Regions from separate parts of the Homo sapiens genome. Here regions 2, 3, 4 and 5 are each linked to region 1. The links are contacts of gene promoters, found by promoter capture Hi-C in blood cells and fetal thymus (Javierre and others, 2016). All regions are on one chromosome and are shown on one strand. Each heading gives the region's core, a stretch centred on a gene start or on the middle of the fragment in contact. The rest is flanking DNA. Distances are from core to core; before and after follow the strand shown.

Region 1 (2,700 bases), core at 170-2,669:
TTGGGAATTCCAAGGATAGGGGTGGTGGTGGCTTGTCCTTCCTTCTACAGGTGAGGTCTTCTCACATGCTTTGGTACCAACGATATCATATGTCTTTTCGTGGTTTGTGAACAGAAGGTGATAAAGTATTTCTCTAAAATTCTAGCTTTTATTCATAAATTCTTAGCATTTTCATTTTCTTCTCCCTTGACCCCGTTTCCGTCGTTTCTGTCTCATAAGCTAGAGCTGGGAAGATGCGGTCGCCCATGCTGCGGCCTGCTGTCTCCTGCGGAGCAGCTCTCCCCAGATCTGTGTGTTTGCCATAATATACTCTCACTTTTCTCCGCACCCAGAGAGGATATACATTTGTTACATGTTTACAAACCAGAATAAAACCATTGAACTGAGGTGACAGGAGGTGGAACCCGTGGAATATCAGTGTTTGTAACCCACTGCGCCACCAGCTCCAAGCTGTAGACACATTTTCTTTCAGCCCCCGGGGCTGGTGTTGCCATTTCTGCGGAGTAGTTCACCTGCGGGCAGGTGGTTCTCAGTTCCCAAAGTCGGGTGGCAAGGGGTGCTCTCCCGAAATGCTGACGCTTCCCCTGGGATGTCAGCAGAGTCGATGCGGACGAAATGAGGTAGCCCAGGCGTGTCTGGGAGGGTGAGCTGTCCGAGCTACTTGGGGCAGGTAGGTCTTCTAATCCCCCATCGCGGCCTAGGTCCGACCCTGCCCCAACCGCCGCCACCGGGCAAGAAAGGCTGGGCCTCCAGGGTGCCCTGGGCACAGGCCTGGGCTCCGGAGGGCGGCGCTGGCCGGGTGCAGCCCCCTGGAACCCAGGCAGGAGGCGAGCCTGGGCGTCACTGGGGGCCGGGGCCGGCGACAGCCGCGGCGCGAGGGTGGGAGGGGACGCGCCCGGCTGGATCCAGAGCGCAGGCTGGCAGCTCACCGAGGCCAGCCCCGTCCCGTCCCTTCTGGGGTTTGGAGGCCCCAGCCTCGCCGCCCTCACTCCCCAGAGCGGCGCTCTCCCAGTCACCCTGGGGGCCGCCCTGCCCCGCCTCGCGCCCACAGAGCTGGGACCCCGGGACCCACTCCCTCAGGCAGGCTGCGTCGCCCACGGCTGCGGCCCGGAGGGGCAGGGGGCGGGCTAGGACCCGGGCGGGGATTCCGGGAGCCGAGAGCTATTTTTGCAAACGCGTCAGCCGCTGGGGAGGAAGAGCCGGCTCCGCGCCCATTGTGTCTGCGCGGCGCGGCGCGGGAGGGGCCGGGGGGCGGCGGGGGGCGGCGGGGACGCAGCGAAGCGCGCGAAAACGGCCGGCTGGGCGGGGAGGACCGCGCCTGACCCCCGGCGGCGGGCGGGGCGGGGCCCGGGGCGGGTCCGGGGGCGGGTCCGGGGCGGGGCGCGAGGGGGCGGGTCCGGGAGCTCTCCGGCCGCTGCAGGCTGGCGGCTGCTGCGGCGGCGCGGGGACTGTGAGGCTGCCGAGCGGACAGCGACTCCCGGGGAAGCCCGCGCTCCGGGAGCGGGAGCGGGAGCAGGAGCAGGAGCAGCGCCGTCCCAGGCCAGAGGCGAGCGCCGGGCGCCGGGAGAGCGGAGAGCCCGGGCAGCTGCCGGAGCGCGGGGGCGCGGCCCGAGGAAACCACAGAGCGAGCCCAGGCCTGGGGAGGGCGCCGAACATCTGAGGCGGCTTCGCGGGAGACAAAGCCGCGCGTAGAGACGCGATGCCCGCCGATCGCGAGCCCGGCCGGCGAGGGCGCGGGGACTGCGGCGTCTGAGCGCGCCAAGCCGTGCGCCCGCGGGGACGCCGAGCCCCGGGGCCGGTGCGGGCGGCGGCGGGCGGGGCCCAGGTGCGCCCGGCCGCGTCGGGCCCGTGACTGCTCGGGGGGCGGCGCCCTCCCGCCGCAGCCGCAGTGGCTGGCGCCGCAGCCAGGAGCCATGGGCAACATCTCCTCTAACATCTCGGCCTTCCAGTCCCTGCATATCGTCATGTTGGGCTTGGACTCGGCCGGCAAGACCACGGTGCTCTACCGGCTCAAGTTCAACGAGTTCGTGAACACGGTGCCCACCATCGGCTTCAACACCGAGAAGATCAAGCTGAGCAACGGCACGGCCAAGGGCATCAGCTGCCACTTCTGGGACGTGGGCGGCCAGGAGAAGCTGCGGCCGCTGTGGAAGTCCTACAGCCGCTGCACGGACGGCATCATCTACGTGGTGGACTCGGTGGACGTGGACCGGCTGGAGGAGGCCAAGACGGAGCTGCACAAGGTGACCAAGTTCGCCGAGAACCAGGGCACGCCGCTGCTGGTCATCGCCAACAAGCAGGACCTGCCCAAGTCGCTGCCGGTGGCAGAGATTGAGAAGCAGCTGGCGCTGCACGAGCTTATCCCGGCCACCACCTATCACGTCCAGCCGGCGTGCGCCATCATCGGCGAGGGCCTCACCGAGGGCATGGACAAGCTCTATGAGATGATCCTGAAACGCAGGAAGTCCCTCAAGCAGAAGAAGAAGCGGTAATGCGCCCGGAGCGACCGGGGAGCGAGCGAGTGCGTCAAGAAAGAATGAATGGATGGATGGATGGTTGGATGGATGGATGGATGGATGAGCGAGAACCCGCGCCCGCGAACAAAGAGCGAACCAAAGCGATGCTTCGAATTTTTAAAACGGAATCTCTGCACCCAAATGCAGGACTGGTGACTTAAGGAGCTGCGAAGTCTGATTTACC
Region 2 (2,700 bases), core at 118-2,617, 540 kb after region 1:
GGGGGTGATGGGTGGCAGTGTCAGATCATCAGGCATTAGGTTCTCATAAGGAGCACACAACCTAGATCCCTCACATGCACAGTCCACAACAGGGTTCACGCTCCTATAGGAATCGAATACCGCCACTGATCGGACTGAAGGCGGAGCTCAGGCGGTAATGTGAGCAATGGGGAGCTGGTGTAAATACAGATGAAGTTTCACTTGCTCGCCCACTGCTCACTTCCTGTTGTTCCTAACAGGCCATGGACCGGCACCCCTGCTCTAAGACGTTCACTGGGGAGCGTCAGTCAAGTTGTTCTATTTGTCTCTTATGTATCTCACTACGGACGGTTCTCTAATCAGAATTTGGCTAGGCAGGTGGGGGCAGGGAGCAAAAAGAGTGCTGCCGTCTGGATTTATAGTTGAGCTACTTTCAATCATCTAGCATATATTTTTCCCATACTTCTGCCCACACACATCCAGAAGGAGATCTGCATCTCTACACCCAGATGGAGAATCACCCTCACTTTGCAGCTGAAGGCAATGTGGAGTTGATGTTATTTTATACCATTTATTTTTATTATCTCTTCACAACAAACCTACTAAGTCAATGTTATGATTCCATGCTGCAAACAAGGAAATTAAGCCTCAGCAATCCTGATATTCTGGAACAGAACAATCCTTTAAGAGATTTGGTATTGAAGACCTTGTTGGAAATGGATCAGACATTGCCCAGACCACTGTCCAGACCCAACACTGGAATAACCCAGGAGAGCTTCGTGCTTACCTCCCATCGGCGGTCATTGGTGAAAATCTCATCATTGGCTAAGTCCAGCTGGTTCCACTCCAGCAGAAGCTTCAGCTGCCCATTCCAGTTATCCTTGTCTTGCTCACTGGTGCTGAAGGCTGTGAGAGGGCAGGAAAAGACTCAACTCACCAAAGGCTCAGAAATAAGAGTGAGAACCATTCAGTGTGGCCAATTATCAGAGCTGTTTATCACAGGTAATGCTGATCATGTTCTCTTACATTCAGACACTCAAACTGTCATTCACTCTATCTTCACTCATTCTTAACCACATTCTGTATGTCCCAAAGTTTATAATGGGGATCAACTCAGGCTACAGTAATGTTTTTCCATTGCATATCCTAGCAGTGTAATAATGGTATAGTAAAGGTTTTTTCCATAGATTCAGATTCCATAGTATTATATTTCAAGGCCATATCTGACTTATGCTACATCTAAATCTACGAAACAATAAGCCACCTTACAACAATGTCATTCTTGTCTTTTCCAGAGCTAATATTTTATGCATCTATGTATCTGTGCAGATATAATTCCATTTTAATAAATACCTTTATAACCAAATGTCTGGCAAGTACAATAAGAATGATTCTAATAAATTGCTGATGCTTTAAATGCACTTCCAACGTGCCTGGCTCTACTCTAGCTAATTTATATTTATCAGTCACACAATTCAAGTCTAGACAACCAAGGATCTATTTACTATGGGTAACATCCACTTTACGGAATTCTAAAGCAGCAAAGATCATGAATGAGAATTTTTTAACCTGAGGTTCATTCATAAGCCTCAGGAAATTTGTAAACCCCTGAAATTAAATGCAAAGTTACTTAGGTGTGAAGTATGTGTGCATATGTGTACAAATATGTAGAATGCTAGGACAAAGATCCATAGTTTTGCCATATTCTCAAAGGAATCTGAGGCCCAATAAAAAAATTATTTTCAACCACTGTTAGAAATAGCTCTTTGGAGACTACTGCGATTTTGTTTGACCAGTATTTTAATGACATAAAAATTATTATTCTATCAAATACATACAACCAAGGAGATTCACCTCACCAGGACAAGCGTAGTTATTCTAGCTTCCAATCTAGGATCATCAAAATTAAGTACAAGCTTGCCTTTCAATAAAGCTGTTTTATAAAAGAAATGTAAGTCATGAAAAGCCACAGAAGGCAACACAAAGCTGACACTTCAAAAGGAGCTATTTTTACTCACCTTTGTATAGAGCGTAGGAGATGGCATTGCTCACAATTTCATCCCCAGCTTCTTCCATTTTAATAACTGTTAATAGGTGAGAACATTCGAGAATTTCTTTGAGCTGGCGAAATTAAAGAACAAAGTGTCAGCCAACAGATTTTAGGCATGAGGAGCATAAACTTCTTTCTTTTTGTGAGAGATCTTTTTAAAAAGACCACCTGTAGTGGAGTTCCGGATCAGCTTCTCATTTCTGAATTGCAATGAGTCCTTGACTACAGTGAGAATAAAGTATTGGTTATACACGTATCAAAAAGCCCCTATCAAAAAGCTGAGAGCCTCATTTGACTAGAGATGTGTGCATCTGCGTGCAGGTGCTGTGTGTGTGTGTGTGTGTCACAAAGCCTGGCACATGGCAGATGCTCAGTTATTAAATGACCAAGTAAATAAAGAAGGGACAATAGAAGACTGTAGACACCATCCAAGTGTGCCCATAAAGATTTAAACAATAGGAAATAAAAGCTCAAATGCAAACAAGAAAGAAGGCTTGGAAACTGGAGAAACAGATAAAGAATTTTCTATATTGTCCTTTGTTATTTTTCTGTAATGTTTAATTTTAAGACGTTTTAAAAAGTAAATAACCCTGTAATTTCAAGGTTACAAGCACTGGCGAGCCCAGCTGGAGCTTGGTGAGAAGGGCCCCTTCTAGCCAAGGGAGCAAGTC
Region 3 (2,700 bases), core at 173-2,672, 630 kb after region 1:
GACAAAAATGATTACTTAGGAAAATATATATTATATAAACTGGCTCCCCCTGAAAAAGTAGGTATTCCTCATTGTGGCACCTGACAGCCCCAAAGGTAGAAATTAAAACTAACCCACATATTTATTGCACACTATGCTGACATTTTAATGTAAATTTTAGACCACATAAGATTTAGTCTTTAGAGTCAGAAATTCCTTAGGTGCTAGCCCACAAATTGCTACATAAGAGAAAACAGAAAAGATTTCACTTTCTGTGATCCTAATAGAAAGCCCACAGAGACATATCTTCCCACTGTGGCTTCAGTAGCATCAAATAGGAAAGTGATAATACTGTGAGAGAATGACGTGCCACCCACAATATCTGAAGTACAAAGACAAAGCTGGATGTATTTTTGGTTAGTTAATTTGAGCAAAACCCGTAAGTGTCCAGATGGATTCTTCCTAGATTATCATAATTCTCTTGCATGTCCATGAAAGGATAAGGTATGTCACAAGGCTAAGAGCTTGAACTGTGCTAGTCCAAATTGAGACGTGCTCTAAGTGTGAGGTTAGAGCACTGGAGTTTGAAGACTTAATATGTAAAAATAAATGTAACATATCTCATTAATAATTTTCAGCATTGGTTAAATGTCGAACTGACAATATTTTAGATACATTGGGTTAAATAAAATGTTTTTAAAATAACTTCACCTATTTCTTTTTACTTTTAAAAAATGTTAATATTTTAAAAACTTAAAATGACCAATGTGTCTCACATATTTTTAATGGACAGTGATGCTCTTAAAAGTATTACCTCTATGGCATGGCATATGTCAAAAACTCATGGTCTTTTTTAGCTATTCTTTGATCCAATATCCAAGGCTTAGCTTCATGTATCCAAGCAGTTACAGGCCTCTACTAAATTAGTCAAAGCATCTTTTGGTCTTGTACTAGGATTACCTTTAAATCTGATGTTAATATATGCAGCAAATCCCTACTGTTAATAGAAACCACCCAACATTTTTTCTGCCGTTTACTAATTTGATTGTTACTCTTTCCCTCACATATTACCATATTCCTATGTACACACTCAGTCTGGCAGCCTTCTGTTACTCTTATCCAATGAAGGAGAAGCTCGTACTTGTGTTCCATTCACTCAAAAAGTATCTATGCCCATAACCAATCTTTGGATAGTCTAAAACAAAATCCCAATTTAATGGTTTTTTCATGTTATCTTAAAAATGAATAAAAAGAGATGATACCAGGAAGTCTAGGTGATAATTACTTTTCTTGCCCAATACTAGGCTTTACTAGAGAGCTGAATTTTATAATACAACTCTCCTAAGCTTTTGCTTGTGCAGCCAATTTGAAGGACAATTTGAAGTGAACTTAAGGATGAGTTGCCTTCCCAACTCTTAGAAAGACCCAAATAATAGCCATTTCTATAATTAAGGCTACTAATGTGAATTTAATCAAGCTACATAAAGCCAGTTTAAATTCCTCAGCCCAAATAGTAGCTATGCATAATAGAATAAGCTTGGATTTTTTTTTTTTTTTTTTTTTTGAGAAGGAGTCTCGCTCTGTTGCCCAGGGTGGAGTGCAGTGGTGCCATCTCCGCTCACTACAAGCTCTGCCTCCTGGGTTCACGCCATTCTCCTGCCTCAGCCTCCCCAGTAGCTGGGACTACAGGCGCCCGCCACCGCGCCCAGCTAATTTTTTGTATTTTTAGTAGAGACGGGGTTTCACCATGCTAGCCAGGATGGTCTCGATCTCCTGACTTCGTGATTCACCCACCTCAGCCTCCCGAAGTGCTGGGATTACAGGCATGAGCCACCGCGCCCGGCCAGCTTGGATTTTATTTGGGCCAATTAAGAGAGAGTCTAGGCTGTCGCTAATAATACTTCCTGCTATCTGGAGTAATTCTATAATACTTCCTGTATAATACTTCCTGTATCTAGAGTAATTCTATGTGACTTGGTCCAATCTATGTCAAAGCTAAAAGAAAGGCAAGGTGAGCTTCTCACCAAGTTGTTGAAAATTCTTTTCTTAGGAAATCTCCCAATCCCTTCTTAAAATAATATTCCTAAGTTTGTTTGTTTTGTTTGTTTGTTTGTTTTGAGATGGAGTCTCACACTGTTGCCCAGGTTGGAGTGCAGTAGTGTGTTCTCAGCTCACTGCAACCTCCATCTCCCAGGTTCAAGCAATTCTCCTGCCTCAGCCTTCCCCAATGGCTGGGATTACAGGTGTGTGCCACCACGCCCAGCTAATTTTTTTGTATTTCTAATGGAGATGGGGTCACCATGTTGGCCTGGCTGGTCTTGAACTCCTGACCTCAAATGATCCACCCATCTTGGCCTCCCAAAGTGTTGGAATTACAGGCGTGAGCCACCACGCCCAGCCTATATGTTTTTTTTTTTTAATCTCACAATTGTTTGAGATCTGTTGTTAGAGTCTTAAATGATTTTGTGCAGCTACTGTCCTGACAGATGATTCAATGAAATATTCAAAGATGAAATAAGAATGAAATTCTGCTGATCAATGTTCAAACTGAAAATACGATCTTTGCAAATGAAACCTCCTCTTCAGAAAGAATCATTTATAGTGGTAAAGAGGTGAATAATTTTTTTGATTCTTTCTTGTAACTTTGGCTGAATGAGGACAAAAAGAGGAGACTGAGAAGAAAAAGGGTTCCATGGACCTCTCCAAGGACTCAGCAGTCTC
Region 4 (2,700 bases), core at 167-2,666, 610 kb after region 1:
CAGCTGCTGAGAGTGTAGATGCTGCCAGAGGGAGCCCCTTCAGGGATTGCTTCAGCTGAAGGGACCCCTGGCCTAAGGTGTGCCCCTTCACAGAGTGTCCCACAGCCAGTAACTGACCAATGGAAGCATCGAAAGGCCTGACCTTCTTGGTCCAATGCAAGGAGCTCTGAAGAACCATCTAACCTCAGAGTTCCCTGTTGTCCGAGGCTGTCACTGGGTCTCCATCCCAGCCTGACTTCTCCTTCTGCCTACTCCCATTTTCATCCTCTTCCTCAAGGTTTGATCCCAAGTGCATCCCCAAATAAACATCCTGTGTTAAACTCCAGCTCAGAGTTCTCTTAATGTTTTGTGTAGTCCTCTTTAATGATAAATCTTGCATTAAAGAGGGAAAATATTTAACCAAAATATTTATTGTCACCACTATAGTCACTATCATTTCTGTGGTAGTGCTGGCCATTGTTCTGTCCCCCTCAATAAGCAGGAAGAAGGAATGATCATCCATTCAGGCTTCCCTATAATCATAAACTCTGAGTGCCATTCAAAGATGCAGCCACACAACAATGGTGTTCTCAACTTTCTCATCCACATTTCCCAATATAATGGAATTGTAGATAAGATTAATGTGGGTAAATAGTGGTGAGGGTTGTTGCAGGTGGTCAAGCCAAGTCACTGGCTCCCCTCTGAACCTGCAACAGGTCTAATTTCTTGCATTAATGATGAAATGAGGTAATCCGTTACCTGCTCTTCCCAGCAATAGGATATATAAGCCCAACTTTCAGGATGTTAGTTTCACATCAAGTGACCCTCCCTGTGACTCTGATAGACATGCTCCCTTCCCTAAGACTTGTATTCAATTAAAGAACAAGTACACCTTGAAATGAATGTATAACCCCTGACATAAATGGGACTTAGAGCTGAACTTCAACTCTTCAACAGATAAGCTGCCTTAGGGAATTCAACCCAAGAAAACAGAGTGGTATAGAAGGTTCCTTGCCATAATCCTCAAACTTATCAGAAAGGTTAGTAAAAGCCTCACAGTACGGTAAAGAGGAAAGCCACAACCCTAAAGGCAATATTCCAAGTTCAGGGCCATTTCAAAGAAGTGTGATATTATTAGACCCTTCTGAGGCAGAATGGCCCATTAGGCTCCATCCACAACATGTTAGGTATGCTGTGAAAGCCAAGAGACAACTAAGCAGGCACCTGGAAAATGCAAAAGCATTGCCCTCCAAAAAGAAGAGAAGGAAAGTCATTTAGCTAAAGTCTGTTCCAGAGCCATTTAGAAATCTCTGCCCTCATATTTGCATTAATACTTATTTGGTTTTCATTTGGCCTTTTAAAACTATAAAGCTATTATAGATCCAAGAGTCATGCTCTGAAATAAGTTAATAGTTTTCTTCCAGACCTCAGAGAAACTATGAGATTTGGGATGTTAATTGAAAAATGTTGCTGTTGTCACCCAGCTTTCTTTCCTACCAACATATCCAGGAGGACATCTGTCACTCCTACTCACATCATTGCAATGTGATTTGGAAGTAGCCCTTCTCTTTTGTCTTTTCTTCAGCCTCATGCCAGCATGGTTAGGAAATCAACATTCCTTAGCACCCATTATACTTATGCCAAGCATGGCACCAGGTGTTTTTACCTAGTTTATTTTATTTAATCTCCATAACTCTATGAGGGAGGTATTATCCCCATTTTACAGATGACATAACTGAGGCTCAGATATATTGCCCAATGTAGACTTGGTTACAAATTGCAGAATTGGGACTTCAACACAGGTTGTCTCCCTCCTTTCATGGAGGGATACAATGTATGTAAACTACTAAGCACAGTCCCTGCTCAGTAAATGGGGTTTTTGTTATTACCTATTTTATTACCTGTTGCAGGAAGTGGATTACCCTGGGATTCAGCTCCCAATTCCATTACATTACCCAAGACAGAGTTGTTCAATCAAGGGCATCCATAAGGCCCATTAATACCCTGAGAAGAGCATGTAACAGTCAAAGGACAAAAAAGGATATTTTACAGAAAAAAGAAAAATAATGGCCATTAAACCTATAAAAATATGCTCAAGATGATAAGGAAAACTAAAATGATATAAGAGTTTACGTATCAGATTAGCAAAGATCAAAGATTGCGATAACATGAGAACATTGCTTACAGGACTGTAAATTGGTTTAACAACCTTTGTTAAACTCCATCTCGGAGTTCTCTTAATGTTTTGTGTAGTCCTCTTTAATGATAAATCTTGCATTAAACAGGGGAAAGATTTAACCAAATAAAAGTATATTTATTGTCACTACTATTGTCACTATCCTTTCTGTGGTAGTGCTGGCCATTGTTCTGTCCCCCTCAATAAGCAGGAAGAAGGAATGATCATCCATTCAGGTTCCCCTATAATCATAAGCGCTGAGTGCCCTTCAAAGATGAAGCTGCACAACAATGATGTTCCCAAACTTCAGGTTCCCAAATCCTCAAGGTGAGCAGTTTGGCAACGTCTATCAAATACTGTGGGGATATACCCTTTAACGCCACAATTTTCTATCTCTGAATTAATCCTACTCACCTATTCCTGTTGTGTGCATACACAGGGACACTGAGGACACACATTTTTCTTCAACTGTCAGAGATGAGAGATGAGAACCATCTACTCATCAGTAAGGAGTCAGTTAAAGAAAGAGGGCCCGGGTGCGGTGG
Region 5 (2,700 bases), core at 174-2,673, 570 kb after region 1:
GCTGGCAGCACATTTCAGAGGACACAGCAGCAGGGGCAAAAGTGCGGCACCATCTTGCAGTAGCGTCCACAAGAAGTTAGAGTAGAGAGGCAAGGGTGGGTTGGGCTTAGCACTAGGGTGGCAACCCTGAGAACTCTCAGGGGAGACTTTGGCAGCTTAGGTCATCTAGTGTGGCAAGTAACAGCAAAACCAGGGTATCAATAAAATTAATCATCACTTCATTTGATGCCCTTGTCTGATGGGTAACTTAGATTACATGGAGTGATCCCACTACCTGTGGAGAGAGAGAAATAATAAACATGGGGGATTCAAAGATTATAGAATCCTGCATCCTTGCATACCTTCTGAGATGGGAACTGGAAGACCCTGAGGTGTTCCTGTGCTCCGCTTGTGTTGCTGAGGGCTGCGGCTGCCCACCACATCTCCCTTCATTTTGACCCAGACTTGAGCTGTAATCAAGCACTGTAAGGTGAACAGCCACAGGTTTCCCTAACCTGCATCTACTTCCCCTTCCACTAGTAAGTGCGCCCTGATTTTCCTTGAGGAATCATGCCTTTCTGCATTGAGTTCACCTGGACACATCTCCCAAGCCTTGCCAATCAACATATTCCACTGTCCCTCAACTTCCATCCTCCAGCCCCAGGGATTAGTTTAGAGATAGGCACATGCTCCAAGCAAGACCATTAAGAGCCATAAACATCAGCCCAGGACTTTTGATGGAATTGCTAGGAGCAAGGCCCTCTTTGCTCTAACTGGCAAATGGAAAGCTGATAACGCACAACCAACAATGACCATTTTGCCTCCAATAGTGAAGAGCCCATCCATCAGAGAAGGGCAGGAACAACAGGTGGAAAGAGACAGAGTCTCGGCGACGTTGTTGAAGCCCTGGATCTGGCTGTGCTTTTCAGCCACAAGATCCCATTATCACACCCCACAGAATCCCTGCTCCAGCTTCCACTTATGCCAGTTAGATTGAACATATGTAACTGAGAACGTGTTGAGGAATTTGTTCTGCCCAAAGCAACGCCATTCTTAGAAAGGGAGGCAACTGACGGTATAGAGAAGGCACAGCCTTGGAATCAGAAAGCCCGGGCTCAAGTCTCTCATCCATCTTCCACTGCACATGTGACCATGGGTAAAATACTGAACTTCTCTGGGCCTCACTTGCCTTAAAGGTAGCAACAGCTTCCTTGCAAGGAGGTTGATAATATTAGCAATCCAGTATGTAAGTCCCATTCATGAAACATACAGGGGATAAATAGTGGTCTTACAAAGCTTACACTTTGTCAGAATGACTCATGATGCGTATGTTTTTACCAGTGACAAGGCAGAGATCTCTTAGTTTTTCTGGTGTTCATTTTCTAATTCACATGAAGTAAGAATTATGCTCTGAAGCATTATGGTAGGTATTTTATATGCTGCGTCTTGAATACCACAACCCATGAGGTATACTTTTGCTAGATTTTTAGGATAAGAGAATTAGCTTTAGAAAAGAGAATAATTGGCTCAAGGCCACACAGTGAGGAGTCAGCCAAGTCAAGGTTGAAACCAAAGCTGGTTCTAAAGCTTTTTTCCTTATTTCTATATCCTTCCTCTGTTCATTGACCCTGTTCAACAGAGAGTCTTTTCATTATAAACTACAGCAGCAACTTGCAATTAATAGCTAGACTCTTTCTTGCATTGCCAGCCAACAGAAAGGAAGGGGCAGAGAGGAATAAGGAGAGTGGGAGGTAGGACGAAAATTGTTTAATTAGATTCAAATGCATCTTCTACACAAAGGGTGAGCACTAGTCGACCCATTCACTCACTCACTTGCTCATCAACAGTTATTGAAGAACTCCTGTAGGCTGAGCTGGTGAAGCCTGCTTTTGTAACCCAGCCTTAATGTTCCAAAACACATGAGACTTAGAGCAGATGAACACTCAATTAGAAGGAAAGACCTAAAGTCAACAGCAGGGAAGAAAAGCCTGACGGAGGAGCCAGTAAGATGGACATATGTACACATGCATGGTATTGCCAGCCAACAGCTGTAAAACAACTTTCATTACCAAGGTCACTCAGGTGGGTTCCCAATCTCATGGGAATACTGAAGAGAGTGACAGCCTCCCTCAACGACTTTTCCAACTATGGCCAAAGCTGAAAATACCAAACAAAATTGTATAGCTCTGAGTAACAACTATAAGCTCCTTGCCAGATCCTTCCTGCGCAAACAGTGTTTCTGAGAATTATAAGACGAAGACATCTTTAATAATGAACTAGGGAGCATTTGTTTGTTGTAAGGGTGGCTGATAATTTTTTTGAACTTGGAAAGCAAAACTGGAGGGAAAATAGTAGCTTACGTGGCCTTGGAATCTTTGGTAAAGAAGACACATTCTCGTTTCTTAAAATTTGCTTGAATAAAATTCACCAAGTCCTTTGGAGAGAGAACATTGAATAACACATTACTAATTTATTCTCACCCCTTGCTGATATTGATGAATACTAAATATGATGTAACCCCACTTCAAAGGCTTTAAGAATTTACCACATATTCATAGCATCCAGCATTTGTTCATGCCTTTAGAGTATACAAAATTTTTTTTAAAGATGCAAACTTTAAAATTTTTATAACTAAATGGAAAATTTTTCTAGAAGTGATTTGGACTTATCTTATTTATAAACAGTATTATATACATACAAATTATGTTTTTCCACCTCTAA

What was found. The method cuts DNA at HindIII sites, captures the fragments that hold promoters and counts their contacts. A CHiCAGO score of 5 or more calls a contact.
Region 2: a fragment that was not itself captured here is called in contact with the fragment with the promoter of ARL4C in region 1 in 6 of 17 cell types (total CD4 T cells, total CD8 T cells, non-activated CD4 T cells and 3 more); the score reaches 10.1 in total CD4 T cells.
Region 3: a contact is called between a fragment that was not itself captured here and the fragment with the promoter of ARL4C in region 1, in 8 of 17 cell types (naive CD8 T cells, total CD4 T cells, total CD8 T cells and 5 more). The highest score is 9.7, in naive CD8 T cells.
Region 4: a fragment that was not itself captured here is called in contact with the fragment with the promoter of ARL4C in region 1 in 1 of 17 cell types (total CD4 T cells); the score reaches 5.0 in total CD4 T cells.
Region 5: a fragment that was not itself captured here is called in contact with the fragment with the promoter of ARL4C in region 1 in 2 of 17 cell types (total CD4 T cells and naive B cells); the score reaches 6.0 in total CD4 T cells.

The regions. Positions count from the first base shown.
Region 1 is chr2:234,495,800-234,498,499 of GRCh38, reverse strand. It overlaps ARL4C (ARF like GTPase 4C), which reads left to right and starts at 1,419. Exons shown (of 2, transcript NM_001282431.2): 1 at 1,419-2,488; 2 at 2,664-2,700. The coding sequence starts at 1,914. The coding sequence ends at 2,694. RefSeq lists an enhancer at 384-1,157 and silencers at 1,342-1,631, 1,742-1,841. The HindIII fragment of the contact is 13,705 bases long and covers 1-2,700 here.
Region 2 is chr2:233,953,317-233,956,016 of GRCh38, reverse strand. It overlaps TRPM8 (transient receptor potential cation channel subfamily M member 8), which reads right to left. Exons shown (of 26, transcript NM_024080.5): 10 at 1,998-2,100; 11 at 767-885. Among named protein-coding and RNA genes, the nearest start is that of TRPM8, 37 kb to the right of the region's middle. The HindIII fragment of the contact is 1,060 bases long and covers 838-1,897 here.
Region 3 is chr2:233,862,647-233,865,346 of GRCh38, reverse strand. It overlaps MSL3B (MSL complex subunit 3B), which reads left to right. Exons shown (of 2, transcript NM_001425333.1): 2 at 1-684. Among named protein-coding and RNA genes, the nearest start is that of MSL3B, 4.4 kb to the left of the region's middle. The HindIII fragment of the contact is 190 bases long and covers 1,328-1,517 here.
Region 4 is chr2:233,886,004-233,888,703 of GRCh38, reverse strand. No RefSeq gene overlaps it. Among named protein-coding and RNA genes, the nearest start is that of MSL3B, 19 kb to the right of the region's middle. The HindIII fragment of the contact is 4,896 bases long and covers 1-2,700 here.
Region 5 is chr2:233,930,381-233,933,080 of GRCh38, reverse strand. It overlaps TRPM8 (transient receptor potential cation channel subfamily M member 8), which reads right to left. Exons shown (of 26, transcript NM_024080.5): 3 at 2,340-2,413. Among named protein-coding and RNA genes, the nearest start is that of TRPM8, 14 kb to the right of the region's middle. The HindIII fragment of the contact is 291 bases long and covers 1,278-1,568 here.